Regions from separate parts of the Homo sapiens genome. Here regions 2, 3 and 4 are each linked to region 1. Evidence: promoter capture Hi-C in 16 types of primary human blood cells and fetal thymus (Javierre and others, 2016). All regions are on one chromosome and are shown on one strand. The core of a region is centred on a gene start or on the middle of the fragment in contact, and the rest is flanking DNA. Distances in the headings are between cores, read along the strand shown. Region 1 holds the start of SLC43A1 (solute carrier family 43 member 1). Region 2 holds the start of SSRP1 (structure specific recognition protein 1). Region 3 overlaps P2RX3 (purinergic receptor P2X 3). Region 4 overlaps PRG3 (proteoglycan 3, pro eosinophil major basic protein 2).

Region 1 (3,418 bases), core at 919-3,418:
ATTTGAAAACCTGGGGGCTCCCAGCTCCTGAAAAGGGAAGGATGTGGGGCCCTTTATATTCATACTCCACTTTGTGCAGCTCTCCCTTGTCTTATGATAGCCCTATTAAGAAATTCCTCTCCCAGCACGTCTCCTTCAAAGAGCTCTAGACCTGAGGCTGTCAGAGGCTTAGGACTCTGCCTATTAGTCCCAGGGTCTGGATGACCAGCAGGACACCTGGCATTCAGTGACCACTGGATTAGATAAATGAAACAGTGGGCAGAGTGCCACCCAATCTCCCCCTGAAGTTTGAAGAGGTCGAGAAGTGAGGCTGTCCAACTGCTGACCCTGCTTTCTGTCCACCTGGCCACCTAACCTTTTCTGGCTTCCACCTGCCCCTTTGCCATCCCTCCCCCCAGCCCACCCAGCCCATTTTCAGGCATACCTGGGCACGTGCTGGAATAGAAGCCCTCGTTCTTCAGAATGATCAACAGGGAGCCCCAGCCCAGGAGTACAGCAGAGAAGAAGAGGTTCTCCAGCACAGCCGTGCAGGCCATCCACCAGCGCCTCCGGTACGCCTGTTGCAGCGTGGGGGCCATGCTGGCCCCGAGCCTGCACAGAAACAGAGCGCTGGGTGAAGGGCCCCCCAGTGGCCCCAGGGAAGGGTCCTGCATCATGGTGGCACCCGAGACCTCTCGGGCCAGCCCGCGAGGAGCCCCTCATGGAGGCCCCATAGAGCCCTGGGCTTCCCAGCCGGTGCCAAGGAGCTGGCTCCGCGCGCACTAGCAGTGCCAGAGGTGCACGCGGCACGGGGCTCCCGCTGAGCCACTATCGGAAACAAGGAAGGTCCTGTCTGCGCGCTGCAGCTTCCTAGCAGGCTGCCGGGTTCTCTCACCCAGGCCAGGGCGCTCAGGGCCGGGCTGCTGGGGAGAAAGTCCGCATCTGCCCAGGTCCCCAGAGGACAGCAAGGGGCAGAGCGCGCTCTGAAGCACCGCGGGCCCATGTCCGGACTCTCGCGCCAGGAAAGACCCCTAGAAGCTGGCAGGAAGAAGGGCAAGTTCAAGGCTACCCTACGACCCCATCTTCCAGTTGCCCCTCCAAGACCTCTCCTTCCCTCTGGGGCCGGGCGACAGCAAGCCCTCCCCCTTTCCGTATCAGGTGACCCACGACCCTACAGTCTCTCGGGCCAAGCCAACAGCTGCCACGTGGAGGGAGACCCAGGACGGGCTCTCCTCGGTTCCCTCCTCCCCCGCGCGCCCCTCACTCACTCCGCAGGGCTCGGGGCACCAGGCTTTGCACCTCGGAACCCGCTTGCCCCCCTCCAGCCCCGGGAGGGGGCTCGGACTTCGGCAGGAAGTCTGGCGGCTGCTGACTTTATAAGGGCAGCGGTGGCGGATGGGCTGGCGGGCGGGTGTGTTTACCAAAGGGAGGGAAAGAGCCCCAGCTCCCCCCGCCGCGGCCGCTGCAGCCTCGGCGGGAGGAGAGGGAACGCGGGCGGCGCGGGGGCGGGGAGCGACAACTGGGATGAGACCGAGGAAAGCGGAGAGGAGAAGGGCAAGAAAGACCCAGAGAGAGGGGAGGAAGTACCAGTCACTTCTTCCAGGGGGACTCGGTATTCTCATCTGTGAAACGGGGCTTTGGGTTCAAGCGCTCCAGGAGGTCCGCTGGAACTCTGGCAAACGCGCAGCTCTAAGCAGAGGAAGTGCAGCGAGCGGGGACCCGGGAGGAAGAGAAGAGTCGGAGGGGTCAGAGAAAAGAAAAGGGAAGGACGCGCTTGGCGAGATGGGACACTGTGCCGCGGGACCGCGGGCGCAAGTAACGGTCTTTCCTTGGGAAGCCTGGCAGTGTCGGCGGGAGCCGGCCTCGGTGTCTCTCAGCCGACGCATAGCCGGAGACCCTACGCGCGCCCCCTCCCCGCCCACGCTGCTCACCTCCGGTCACCGGCAAATGAGCAGCCAGCAGCTGCGGACGCCTCCGGGAGCGCAACGCTTTCGCGGCGCGTCCGGAGTCCCGTGGGCCCAGCCCTGAGCCGCGCCGGCGCTGGGGTCTTCTCTGCGTGCAGGACCCGGCGGCCACGGAGCTTCAGCCTGACAGCCCGGTGGCCTCGCCTCCGCTGTCTCCTCGGAAGAAGCGGGGGAACTGGGAACCCGCCGGGCGCCAGAGGTCTGCGAAGCTGGGCTTGGATGAAGTGGATCTGCGGAGTTGATAGTTGTATTTACACGCGTCCGGAGCTGCGCCCCGAGGTGGGGGCGGGGGCTCCCTTCTTTTCCCCTCCCCTTAGGTCGAGTTTCACGCGCACGTGACTCGCCCGCTGGTCCCGGACACTCTCCCTCTGGCACAGCCCCAGCACCTACATTTCCACCCTGGACCCCCATCTTCTCCCCCAAGCCCCCAGACTAACATCAGGCAGCGCCCTCTGTATCCTTGTTCAAAACAAAGTGCGATTCGGCTGAAGCCGACTGACCGCGATTCAGGGCCGCCTTGGGTGGGGTTTTGAACTGTGCAGCTGGAAGCAGTGTTTTCCGAGAGGCAGAGTGGCACGGGTTTCTTTGGAGTTAGTCAGATCGAGGTCTGAGTCTTGACTTTTTAACTGACTACCCTGGGTTACCTAGGGCAAGTTACCTCTCTGAGCCTCAGCTTCCTCCTCTTTAAATTCGGTTAAAATGGAACCTACCTAACTGCCCAAAGGAATCGCGATTGTGATGCAGGTAAAATGCTAAGCATAGCATTTGGCATAGTAAGCATAATGTTAATTGTTGCTGCTGTCATTATTTCAGAAGACCTGGTGATCGGATGCTTCCAGATCAACAATTGATTGACTCCAGGTAAATCTCTCAGCCTCCCTGAGCCTCAGTATCCTCATCTGTAAAATAGACTACTATGGTGTGGAGTAATGAGAAGTAATCTCATTACATGTGAGTTTAATTGTGTGTTAAGAGTGCTGCTAATGCATGCTGAGCTTAATACCTAGGTGATGGGTTGATAGGTGCAATAAACCACCACGGCATACATTTACCTACGTAACAAACCTGCACATTCTGCACATGTACCCCAGAACTTAAAATAAAAATAAAATTTTTTTAAAAAAAGAGTGATACTGGTGGCCAGGTGTGGTGGTTCATGCCTGTAATCCCAGAACTTTGGGAGGCCAAGGCAGGAGGATCGCTTGAGCTCAGGAGTTCGAGACCAACCTGGACAACATGGTGAAACCCCGTCTCTACAAAAAAGAAAAAAAAATAGCCAGGCATGGTGGTGTGCACCTGCAGTCTCAGCTACCCAGCAGGCTGAAGTGGGAGGATCACTGAGCTGGAGAGATGGAGGCTGCAGTGAGCCAAGATCATGCCACTACACTCCAGCCTGGGTGACAGAGTAAGACTCTGTCTCAAAAACAAAACAAGAATGACTACAGAAAGCTCCAAGAAGGCCTCAGATAAAAGGG
Region 2 (3,418 bases), core at 551-3,050, 180 kb before region 1:
GCAGTAATCCGAGATTGCGCCACTGCACTCCAGCCTGGGTGACAGAGCAAGGCCCTGTCCCCAAAAAAAACCAAAAACACACATACACACAAAGAAATCAAGCTAAGATTCTGAACCTTGATAAAAGCCACAGGCAGAAACTACTATCTAAATCAAGACAGAAGAAAATCTTCTGGAGTCAAGGCACACAGAAATTCACAAGACTTCAACGCTCAAAGCCAAACACTGATTGCCTGATGGCCTCACAGCCCTGCTCTAAGGAGCCCAAACTAGCAATCACAGGGTTACATGAGGAAGGAACCTCGAGTCTCTAGAAGATTAAAATAAGAAGATGCAGTAAAAAGGAGGCTTATAGCCATGGGACATCTCACCGATTCTCGGAAGCCATCATACTTGTAGACATGGCCATTCTTTGTAAGCAGTTTAAGTCCATGGCCCAGAGCAACACGGCGCCAGATACCTTCTGTTAACTCCCCAGCCTGGATGTTGTCCACTTTGCCTGTCTTGCTATTCTTGAAGATGATGCCCTGACGGCTCAACCTCAGTCGACCATCATTCTGTAAGAAAAGCAGGCCCAGATGCATGGAGACAGTACACAGCATGTCCTGGGTTCTACAGCTCTACCTAACACACATTCCTGCTGCAAGTGGACTGGCCAGATTATCAATGCAGGAGCAACAGCTGAGGGTGCCAAGGAGTCTAGATTCTAAACCAGACTCTGGTATCTAGAACCCTTAACAGATTCTCAGTTTCCTCATTTGTAAAACAGGAATTGGGAACTGAACAGCATATACGGTCCCTATAACTCTGAGACTATCTCTCAGTATTGCCTTGAGTTGGTGGAGACACTAGGTACACATTATACTGAGTCTTCTTTTTCCAAAATAACGTTACCAAAGCAAGCTCTCATTAATGGACAAAAACTCTACCCTCCTTCCTTCTCTCTACTTGTATCACCTGTCCAAGCCATTCTCACCATGGAACCTTTCACCTCCTGATAGACGTCGTTGAACTCCAGTGTCTCTGCCATGTCGACCCCTGCCTGTGGTGGCCTGGGCAGAGCCCCAGGCTGCACAAGGGAAACCAAGTAAACTGGGAGCTGGGCCCCAACTCCTGAGTGGGTGTGCGGATGCTCAGCAGGTTGGGAATCTGAATTCAAGAGGAAGACAGATAAGCATGAAAGACAGCACCTCGCTGTGCTCACGGATGGAGCCAGGTAGCAACTCCCAGCTGCGCCTGGATGTCTCAGGATTTCCTCTGCCTGGAAACCTACAGACGGACGCTGCAGTGCCCGAGGGTCCAGGTCCAGGCCTGGGTGGAGAACCGGGCCCGGAATACCGCTGACACCCAACCCGACGCCCGCTCTGGCCGCTCCGGCGGGAGCCATGGCAACGAGCAGCGGAACCCCAGGGTCTGCCAGGAGCCCGCACATCGCACGCGACCCAATCCAGCTCAGAGTGCAGGGTTTCCCTCGCACCGCTCCCACCACCCCGCGGCCCCAGACCCACGGTTCACCCCCGCCCCACATAATGGATTCGCCCGCTCCCCGCGGTTGCGAACGCGGAATGGTCCATGTCGAGGGTCCCGTGGGGGAGCGGGGCCCCTGCCTTCCTGGGACCGGGGACGACCACCACCTACCTCCTCAGGCTGCGGCCTCGCGAGGGCCCCGGCGCGAGAGGTGGGCGCGCTGGGGGGACGCGGGGGGGGCGCGGGGAGGGGGATGGGGGGACACCGGGGAAGCTTTTCCCGCGTGCGCGGCCCCGCGTCCCGCCACCGGAAGCCGTACACAGGCCACAGAGAGGATGAGCTGGCTAGAGAGACGCGAGTCGGGCCCGCCTGCGAGACAGTCGCATAGAGCGTCAGCGACTCTGGAGGACCTGAGGGAAGGGTGGTTGCCGTGAAGCCTCTCTCACCCAGGGGGAATCCGGCCTAGAAAATGTGTGTAGGGCTCTTTAGAAACTACAGACACTTCTTCAGTCGAGACTAGATACTAAAGAGAAATTGTGTAGTTTTATTGTATCAGACTTAGTACAGGGGTGGGGTGGGGGTGTGTATTGGAATGATGCGTGCCCGTTTCTCTGCAAAATAGTTTCTATGTCATGGAAAGGAGTCGATGGGACAAGAAGAGAAGTATTTGAACAGTTGTGGGAGGAAACGACCTCTCCCACTGGCTGCGGAGAGTATGCGGGTGTTGGTGTCATCGTGGGTGCACTGCTTTCTGGCTGAACTGTCAAGTTCACTGTCTACACCCAAAATTTTCACATCCTTAACCGAAAATTATAGGTACCTCCAAGAGGCTGGCAAACGGCCTTATCCAGTTCAAGTCCTGGTGTCAGATTCACCTTGGAGCCAGAACTGATTTGAAACCACATCATCCTGTGGTTGCGGAAGCCAGGTCTCCCCCGTATAATCCCAGAGTGCATTTTGCAACATCAGAGACCAGACCTGGAAAAGATGTTTTAGTTTTTCTACCCCAACCTCCTTTTACTGATGGGAAAACTGAGACCCAAAGGGGAGTGAGTTGCCCAGGGTCTCAGTGCGTTGGCAACAAGGCTAGGTAGGACCCAGACCTCCTTAACACCACCAGTCCAGTTATCTTCTGTCATAATCACAGTGACTGTATGTTCAGAATGACTATTGATATGTGTCCTACATGAAGACATTAGTACAGAATATGTAAGCTCAAGATTTCCCTGACAATCAATACACCAGCTTGCTAAATCAATCCTGGGGTAAGAGACAACAGGAATGCACCCTTCTCCCCTGAACTCATAGCTTTAACCTCTGAGTAGTGGCTATTCCAGCATTATCTAGCAAAATAAATTCAACTGGGTTTAATAAATAGATATTGAGGGCCTATTACTACTTTAGCACACTTCTCAGATTTGAGGAAACTTGAACAAGGTGAAAACATCCCCGGCCAGGCACGGTGGCTCACACCTGTAATCCTAGCACTTGGGGAGGCCAAGGCAGGGAGATCACTTGAGGTCAGGAGTTTGAGACCAGACTGGCCAACGTGGTGAAGCCCCGTCTCTATTAAAAATACAAAAATTAGCCAGGCGTGGTGGCGGGTGCCTATAATCCCAGCTACTCAGGAGGCTGAGGCATGAGAATTGCTTGAACCCAGGAGGCAGAGGTTGCAGTGAGCTGAGATTGTGCCACTGCACTCCAGCCCGGGTGACAGAGCGAGACTCTGTCAAAAAAAAAAAAAAAAAGAAAGAAAGAAAAAGAAAAAAAAAAGGAAGGGAAGGAAAGAAAGAAAAAAAAAAAAAACAGAAAAAAAAACCCAGCCCCAACCTTTCAGGAAAACATAATCTAACAAATGACTTTAATAAATAAAGTGACAGTTAAAAAAAAAAGAAGTTGGCACATATACACCGTGGAATACTATGCAGCTGTAAAACAGGATGAGTTCATG
Region 3 (3,418 bases), core at 324-2,823, 160 kb before region 1:
TGAATCTGCTAACTAAGACATCCAGAGGCAGCTAGAGATTCACATTTCCATCACTAATTACATTCGCAGCTCCCTTCCAAATGTCACTCCCCCCCCCCCGCCCCTATTTTTTGTAGCTCTTTGCCTGCAGAATCAGAGATTTTGAGAATTTATAGCTGTTGAAGTTCCCCTTGCAGTCACCCAGAGTAAGGCGGTCACTTTACAGATGAGGAAGCGGAAGTTCCAAAGGGGGCATCTTAGAGTAGCCTCAAAGGTCATTGGATCTCAACTCCTAATGTGACCCTTGTGATTTAAAGGAGTTTACGGACCCATGTAAGAGATTACAGGCCCATGTAATCACCCTGACACTGGGGGATATCTGATCTCCGTGGCAAGCAAAGTGGCCTGCTCCATTCATTGGAAAGGTGACCTCAAATTGAGCCAAAATGTGCCTCCCTTTAAATCCTCTCCAGTGTACTTGGTGCTGTCCATGCAAGTTAATCTTTATTTTTGTGATCCCCTAAAGATTCTGTTCTTCCCCTACCTGAAATTTAGTGGAGACATTTTATTTTTACTCCTTGGTCTGTTCTGCGTGGCTAAAGACTCCGTGGGCCGCTTTAACTTAGTATTTTTATGAAGCCTCTTTCTAAGCACACTGAGATTGCAGTTGGTGGGGTCATCTGGATTTCTAGCAGACAAAATGCAGCAATTTCTAAAAATAAGAACTGTTGAGAGTCACCAGTTCAGTGCTGCACAAGTGAAAGGCGCCCTCAGCAGAGCCCTGCAGTTCTTCAGGAGGCTCTCTTCTCTGTTGGCAAGGTTTCTGAGGCCCAGGTAGACCCTCAATTCACAGGAGCAGGATTTTAACAAGAGTACTATATTTCCCAAAGTCCTGGGAACAGGTGATGTTGTGTGTGTGTGTGAGTGTGTGTGCACATGCGAGTTCGTGAGAGTGGGTGTATTTGTTAGTGGGTGAATGTGTGAGGCTGAGAGTGAGTGTGTCAGTGTGTGTGTGTGTGCGTGAGTGTATAGGCATTGATGGTGCAATGACAGATTAAAAATACTGTATCCGTCAGGGTCCCCGCAGGAAACAGATGGCACATTCTAACTGGGTAATCTGAGGAGAGTTTAATAAAGGGACTGTTTCAAAGGTGTGGGCAGGGTGTACGGAAACCACACAGATAGTGCAGTGCCAGGGCCAGAAACAGGACACTGGTTACCACCCAGGTCTGAAGAGGCGAGGAGAGGAAGCAGTGACAGGAACATGGAGACGGACAGAGCTGTGAGCAGAGGACAGCCTGACATGTGGCTGTGACTCAGGAGAGCCCCACCAGAAGCCAGAGCTGAGGCAAAGTGGCCCACTGAGGCAGCCCAGGGCAGGGCGAGGAAGGGAGGAGCACGGACCTGAGGGGCACCTGCAGAGATGTCCAGGACAAGTCCTGACAACTTTCATCTGTGAAATTACAGCCCTTCCTTAACTTTCAGAGGTCTCTAACTGCTTTATGCCCCCGATGAAAATGGGGACCATTGTCCAAGGAAGATGCATGTATTCATAGACATGAGAAAATTCACAGGCAAGTTCTCTTCTTAAAGGATATTTTATTTCTTTTTTTTTTTTTTTTTTTTTGAGACAGAGTTTTGCTCTGTTGCCCAGGCTGGAATGCAGTAGTGCAGTAGTCTCGGCTCACTGCAACCTCTACCTCCCGGGTTGATGCAATTCCCCTGCCTCAGCCTCCCCAGTAGCTGGGATTACAGGTGCCCGCCACCACGCCCAGCTAATTTTTGTATTTTTAGTAGAGACGGGATTTCAACATGTTGGCCAGGCTGGTCTCGAACTCCTAACTTCAAGTAATCCACCCACCTTGGTCTCCCAAAGTGCTGGGATTATACGCGTGAGCTACCACGCCTAGCCAGGTTATTTCATTTCTACAAATAAGATACAAATACATTCTCAGAGTAATAAATCCAACCAATACTGATATATACAAAGTAATGACATGGGAAGTCCCCTTCATTCCCCCAGGCCTGCACCCTTTGCAGGGAATTAACATCTGGGACGGTTTAATGAGTTTCTTTCCAGTTCTTATTCTATGCATTTATATTTATGCAGCATAAAATTCCAAGACTTTGAGGCCCTCTAAAAGCCTATCCCGTAGCCAGGTGTGGAAGCTCCTGCCTGTAATCCCAGCACTTTGGGAGGCTGAGGCGGGAGGATCCCTTGAAGCCAGGAGTTTGAGACCAGCCTGGGCAGCAATAGCAAGACTCCTTCTCTACAAAAATAAGATTAAAAATTCTAAAAAATAAATAATAAATGAAAGCCTATCCCTGCACCTCAGATTAAGAGCCCTAGAGTTAAGTTTGCAAAGCCCTTTCACACCTATTTTTGACAGATCACAGCTCACCATCTTCCCCCACCCCCAAGGTAGGCTCAGAAAGATTTCAAAACTTGCCTGAGATTATACAGCCTAATTAAGAGGCACATCAGGACTCAAACCCAGGGATTTGATCTATATCCATTGCTTCCAGCATGCCTTGCGCCATCACATGGCCTGCAAAAAAGGGGAAAAAAAAATAGCTCTAAGAGATATACCTGGTAGTGATGGCTGGTGTGATTGACGGGAGAGAATCGAAACTGCATTTCAAAATGCCTGATTTCTTGTTTCTCCTCTGAGAGTTCCTAAGACAGCTTTGCTACTAAAAGGCAACGCAGTTTTGGATTTCCTCTTTTGGTGTCTGGGACAAAAAAACATTTGTTCAGCTGCTAGATGTTCCTGGTGCGGTAGGTGTTTCTAGTGATCGTTTTATGTTGGAAATGTACCCACAGCAGCTTTCATGAAGCTCGGAGATTTGGCGCCTGTCCTGCTTCCAGGCAGAAACGTGTGGATCAGCAAGATCTTAGGCCAATTGACAGAGACAGAATCGAAGTGCACCCTTGGCTTTGATCATTCTCTCTACAATCTGGATTTTTCTCTTTCCAAAAGCCATAGAATATGCGTTAAAAGCAGCCAGCACCGTCATTTCCACAGAAACACTTGAAGGCCCTCTTCCATGGGAAGTGTACTTGCTTGAATTCTCCATAATCCATTTTCTTCATCATTTTTAGGTTTCAGTGGAAGTGATGCAATTAGAGTGATCTTGGATTTAGATAGCCCTTTATCATGTTCATGTCTACCCTATTCTCACAGCAACCAGTATTATTCATAGAAAATATTAGCTAACACTCATTGAACACTTACCAGTGAGCCAGAGAATTAGCAGGTTCTCTGTGTGATTATCTTGTTGACCCTGAAGAGAGAACATTTTAGAGCCAGGTGTGGTGGCTCACACCTGTAATAATCCCAGCACTTTGGGAGGCCAAGGCGGGCAGATCACGAGTTCAGGAGTTCAAGACTGTCCTGGCCAACATAATGAAACCCTGTCTCTATTAAAAATTTTTTTA
Region 4 (3,418 bases), core at 362-2,861, 140 kb before region 1:
CAAACCTGCACATGTACCCATGAACCTAAAATAAAAGTTAAAAAAAAAAAAAAAGAAGGGACTATTGTAGTGTGTAGTGTGTGGATCTGTGTGGGGCCCTAATCCCAGGTAGCTCCCCTTCCATGCCCTTTGGGAGAAGGACCACTTGACATGCTGTGATTAGGAGCTGCCTGACCCAATTTCCATCCATGGCAGTTGGACAGACCCCTCTACTGAGGACAGGCCTTTTCATGTAGAGACAGTCCCTGGGGCCCAGCATGGGTAAAGTCCCTGGCAATGACAGCACCCATTCTCCTGCTGCCAGAGGCCTGCCCATGTTGAAGGGCCTCATCTCTCTGCTTTCTCCATCACCCACTTTCCCCAGGGCTCTCTGATCCTGTCCCCTCAACTTTAGCACCCTTAGAAACACAGCACATCTGGGAAAAGTTCTTTTCGCTCCTGAAACCACATCCCATCAGATGCTGGTACAGATATACACAAACACACAAACATAGTCCTGTATGCAGTTATGCTCAGACACACACTGAGACATATACCCACCCACATACATACCAGTCAAAGACACAGAGGAAGACACATATGCATACACAGAGAGATTTGGGAACATAAGGCTGCAAAGCTATGGAGACATATGCATTCACAGGTGTACGCAGACAGACATATCCATAAATACACAGAGATATATAAACATATGCATACTCAACATGCAAATTCATACTGACTCACAGATTTATGCACATTTACATATACAAATTCACACATATACAGGTATACACATGTACACAAACACTGACACATGTACACACCAAGATATATACGCACACATGTACATGTGCACACACAGAAATACTTTTGTATTCTCCCTGGGCCCCATGTGGAAACACACTCCCAAGAAGTCTGTCTCTCCCCACTGCCTCCACCCCCTACAATCCAGGGCTCTCTACCGTCTTGATACCCAGTCTCAGTTCTGAGTTTCCTACTTCATCAACTCTACATCCTTCCTGGAGCCCAGTACCTCATCTGTGACAAAGTTAATAGCAACAACAATAATGTCTCTCAATGTCCCCAGGGTCTGAGAAAGTGGGGGACGGAGAGACACAGAGGCCTGGGGCTGCAGAACTGGGAATGGGAACTACCAGACACCCTGGCTTTGTGCCCAGGGCCCTGCTGGGGAGAAGTCGCTCCCTCCTAAGGATGTGGCCCCTCTACAGAGGTAGGCCAGGAGGAAGGAAGGGGAGGACCACCACCCTCCTGGGAATGGATGGGGAACATGCCTCAGAGGAGGCTGGGGACTCACAGAGGTGGCTGGAAATAAAATTGGGGGCCATTACCAGAAGCCAGAAAGGCATAGGGCCAGAGGAGCAGTCTGCCCCAAGACAAGACTGCTTTCTCCCCACTTCCTCGTGTTGTCCCCTAGGTGGGACCTCAGTGTTCCACACCAACTCTTAAAACAGCTCCATCACCTTTATTTTGGAAAGCCACCCCACCCTGCACCGCATACTGAATCCAAACAAAGCAAGAGGACCAGCAAAGCACCCCACACCAACTGAGCTCCCATCCCCCACTCCCCCAGTCCTTACCCATACTCCCAACCCCTCCCTCCATCACACCCAACCCTACTCCCATCCCCACCACCATCTCCACCACTTCTACTCCCACCCCCCACTCCCCAATCCTTACCCATACTCCCAACCCCTCACCTCTATCACACCCATCCCTACTCCCATCCCCCATCTCCCACCCCTAACCCTAATCCCAACCCCTCACCTGCACCACACCCATCCCTACTTCCATCCCCCCATCTCCCACCCCCACCCCTACTCCTAACCCCTCACGTCCCCACTCCCACCCCTACTCCCATCCCCCCACCTCCCACCCCTACCCCTACTTCCAACCCCTCACCTGCACCACACCATCCCTAAACCCATCCCCCCACCCCTACTCCCATCCCCCCACCTCCCACTCCCACCCCTACTCCCAAACCATCTCCACCACCTCTACTCCCACCACCCACACCCCTGTCCCCATCCTCCCAACCCTACCCCACGCCCGGGGAGGCCTTCCGGCCGCCCCAGGTCCCGCTCTGCCGCCCAGCGCCGCCGCCAGCCCCCACCGGGCCGCCCTACTCGGCCATGGCTCACTTTCCCGAGAGTGAATGCTTCCAGGATTTTTCCGAACTGGAGTAATCCCCAAAGTGAGCAATAAAGAAACGAGAGTCAGGAAATGCTGTGGGAAGTCTGGATTTATGAGCAGGAGAGGTTGGGGGACGGGAGGGAGCTGCTGGCAGGGTCTCCGTGCCGCTGGCTTAGAAGGAGCAGACGAAGGGCAGTTGCTTGTCGCATTGAGCTCGTCGCCAATAACCTCCTAGCAGCACAGAGCACAGTGAAGTCCACCGCCCTGCGGGGTCTGGCCTGGGCTTCACCTCTTTCCCTCCTCAGGGGCCCCCTATGTCCCCATCTATGGCCATCGTCATCTGCCAGCTGTGTGCTTGCCCCACATCCCTACTGGCTCACATTTGCTGAGCTCTTACTGCTAGCTAGGCTGTGTGCTAACTGCATTAGATGGACTTAGGTGGACTATTGCATTTAATCCTTACCATGACTCCAAGAGGTGGGTGCTGTCATCATCCCCATTTCACAGATGAGGAAACGGGGGCTTAGTAGAGATAAACAACGTGCCTGTATCTCAGTTGGCAAGTGGCAGCACTGGGATGTGAACTGCAGCAGTCTTGCTCTAGCACATATGGTCTCAGCCACTATACTAAACTCACATCTGGCACCCATGCTGCTGCCCATGTCTGCTGTTGGAGGTGGGCATCTTGTCTCTCAGCCATCCCTAATTCCCCCATCCTTCCTTTTCTCTCATCCACGCCTTATATCCACTTCCGCTACTCTCATTGGTCATACCTGTTGTTCGAATTTATTGCCCTCATATCAAAGGAGGCAAAGAATTTTCCCACACACACACCATCCAGCCCACCCCCCTGTCTCCAGAACTCCTATCACCTGGTTTTGCTTTGAGGATTCCCTATGTCTCAGCCCTCCTTACACACAGGACTTTTGTTCTTCAGTCAGCGGGAGGGTCTGAGTTTGGGGAGGTGTGTTCAGGCAGCTCAAAGGGGTAGTATTAAGAATCCACTTTACTATCCCTTCTCCCTGCCCTGGTGCCCTTCCCCCTCACCTTTGGTGCATAGGGCCACACAGGAGCCTTGCCCATTCCCAGGTTGCCCTGGGGACCAGTAAGCAAAATTCCAGTGGCTCCCATCAGTCCAGCAAAACCGCTTCCACAGGAACTAGAGAAGTGACAGGCTAGGTCAGAGGGCAGAAGTTCAGATCCAGGACCTCATGGAATACCCCCTGTTGACTTCTCTCACTGCCTACCTGGCCAGGAGCCAGACACCCTAGAGAGCCATTCCTAA

What was found. The method cuts DNA at HindIII sites, captures the fragments that hold promoters and counts their contacts. A CHiCAGO score of 5 or more calls a contact.
Region 2: a contact is called between the fragment with the promoter of SSRP1 here and the fragment with the promoter of SLC43A1 in region 1, in 15 of 17 cell types (erythroblasts, M1 macrophages, megakaryocytes and 12 more). The highest score is 24.4, in erythroblasts.
Region 3: a fragment that was not itself captured here is called in contact with the fragment with the promoter of SLC43A1 in region 1 in 9 of 17 cell types (erythroblasts, M0 macrophages, activated CD4 T cells and 6 more); the score reaches 15.2 in erythroblasts.
Region 4: a fragment that was not itself captured here is called in contact with the fragment with the promoter of SLC43A1 in region 1 in 6 of 17 cell types (activated CD4 T cells, M2 macrophages, M1 macrophages and 3 more); the score reaches 7.2 in activated CD4 T cells.

What each region holds. Positions count from the first base shown.
Region 1 is chr11:57,513,534-57,516,951 of GRCh38, forward strand. SLC43A1 (solute carrier family 43 member 1) reads right to left here and starts at 2,169. Exons shown (of 15, transcript NM_003627.6): 1 at 1,911-2,169; 2 at 425-591. The coding sequence starts at 578. RefSeq lists an enhancer at 2,323-2,392. The HindIII fragment of the contact is 5,778 bases long and covers 1-3,418 here.
Region 2 is chr11:57,334,092-57,337,509 of GRCh38, forward strand. SSRP1 (structure specific recognition protein 1) reads right to left here and starts at 1,801. Exons shown (of 17, transcript NM_003146.3): 1 at 1,639-1,801; 2 at 977-1,149; 3 at 372-557. The coding sequence starts at 1,030. It also overlaps a transcript of P2RX3 not described here. RefSeq lists enhancers at 970-1,039, 1,890-1,939 and a silencer at 1,540-1,719. The HindIII fragment of the contact is 4,158 bases long and covers 1,739-3,418 here.
Region 3 is chr11:57,353,750-57,357,167 of GRCh38, forward strand. The region is part of intron 8 of P2RX3 (purinergic receptor P2X 3); the gene reads left to right. Among named protein-coding and RNA genes, the nearest start is that of P2RX3, 17 kb to the left of the region's middle. The HindIII fragment of the contact is 5,121 bases long and covers 1-3,418 here.
Region 4 is chr11:57,374,545-57,377,962 of GRCh38, forward strand. It overlaps PRG3 (proteoglycan 3, pro eosinophil major basic protein 2), which reads right to left. Exons shown (of 6, transcript NM_006093.4): 5 at 3,181-3,292; 6 at 2,225-2,364. The coding sequence ends at 2,306. Among named protein-coding and RNA genes, the nearest start is that of PRG3, 4.9 kb to the right of the region's middle. The HindIII fragment of the contact is 5,955 bases long and covers 1-3,418 here.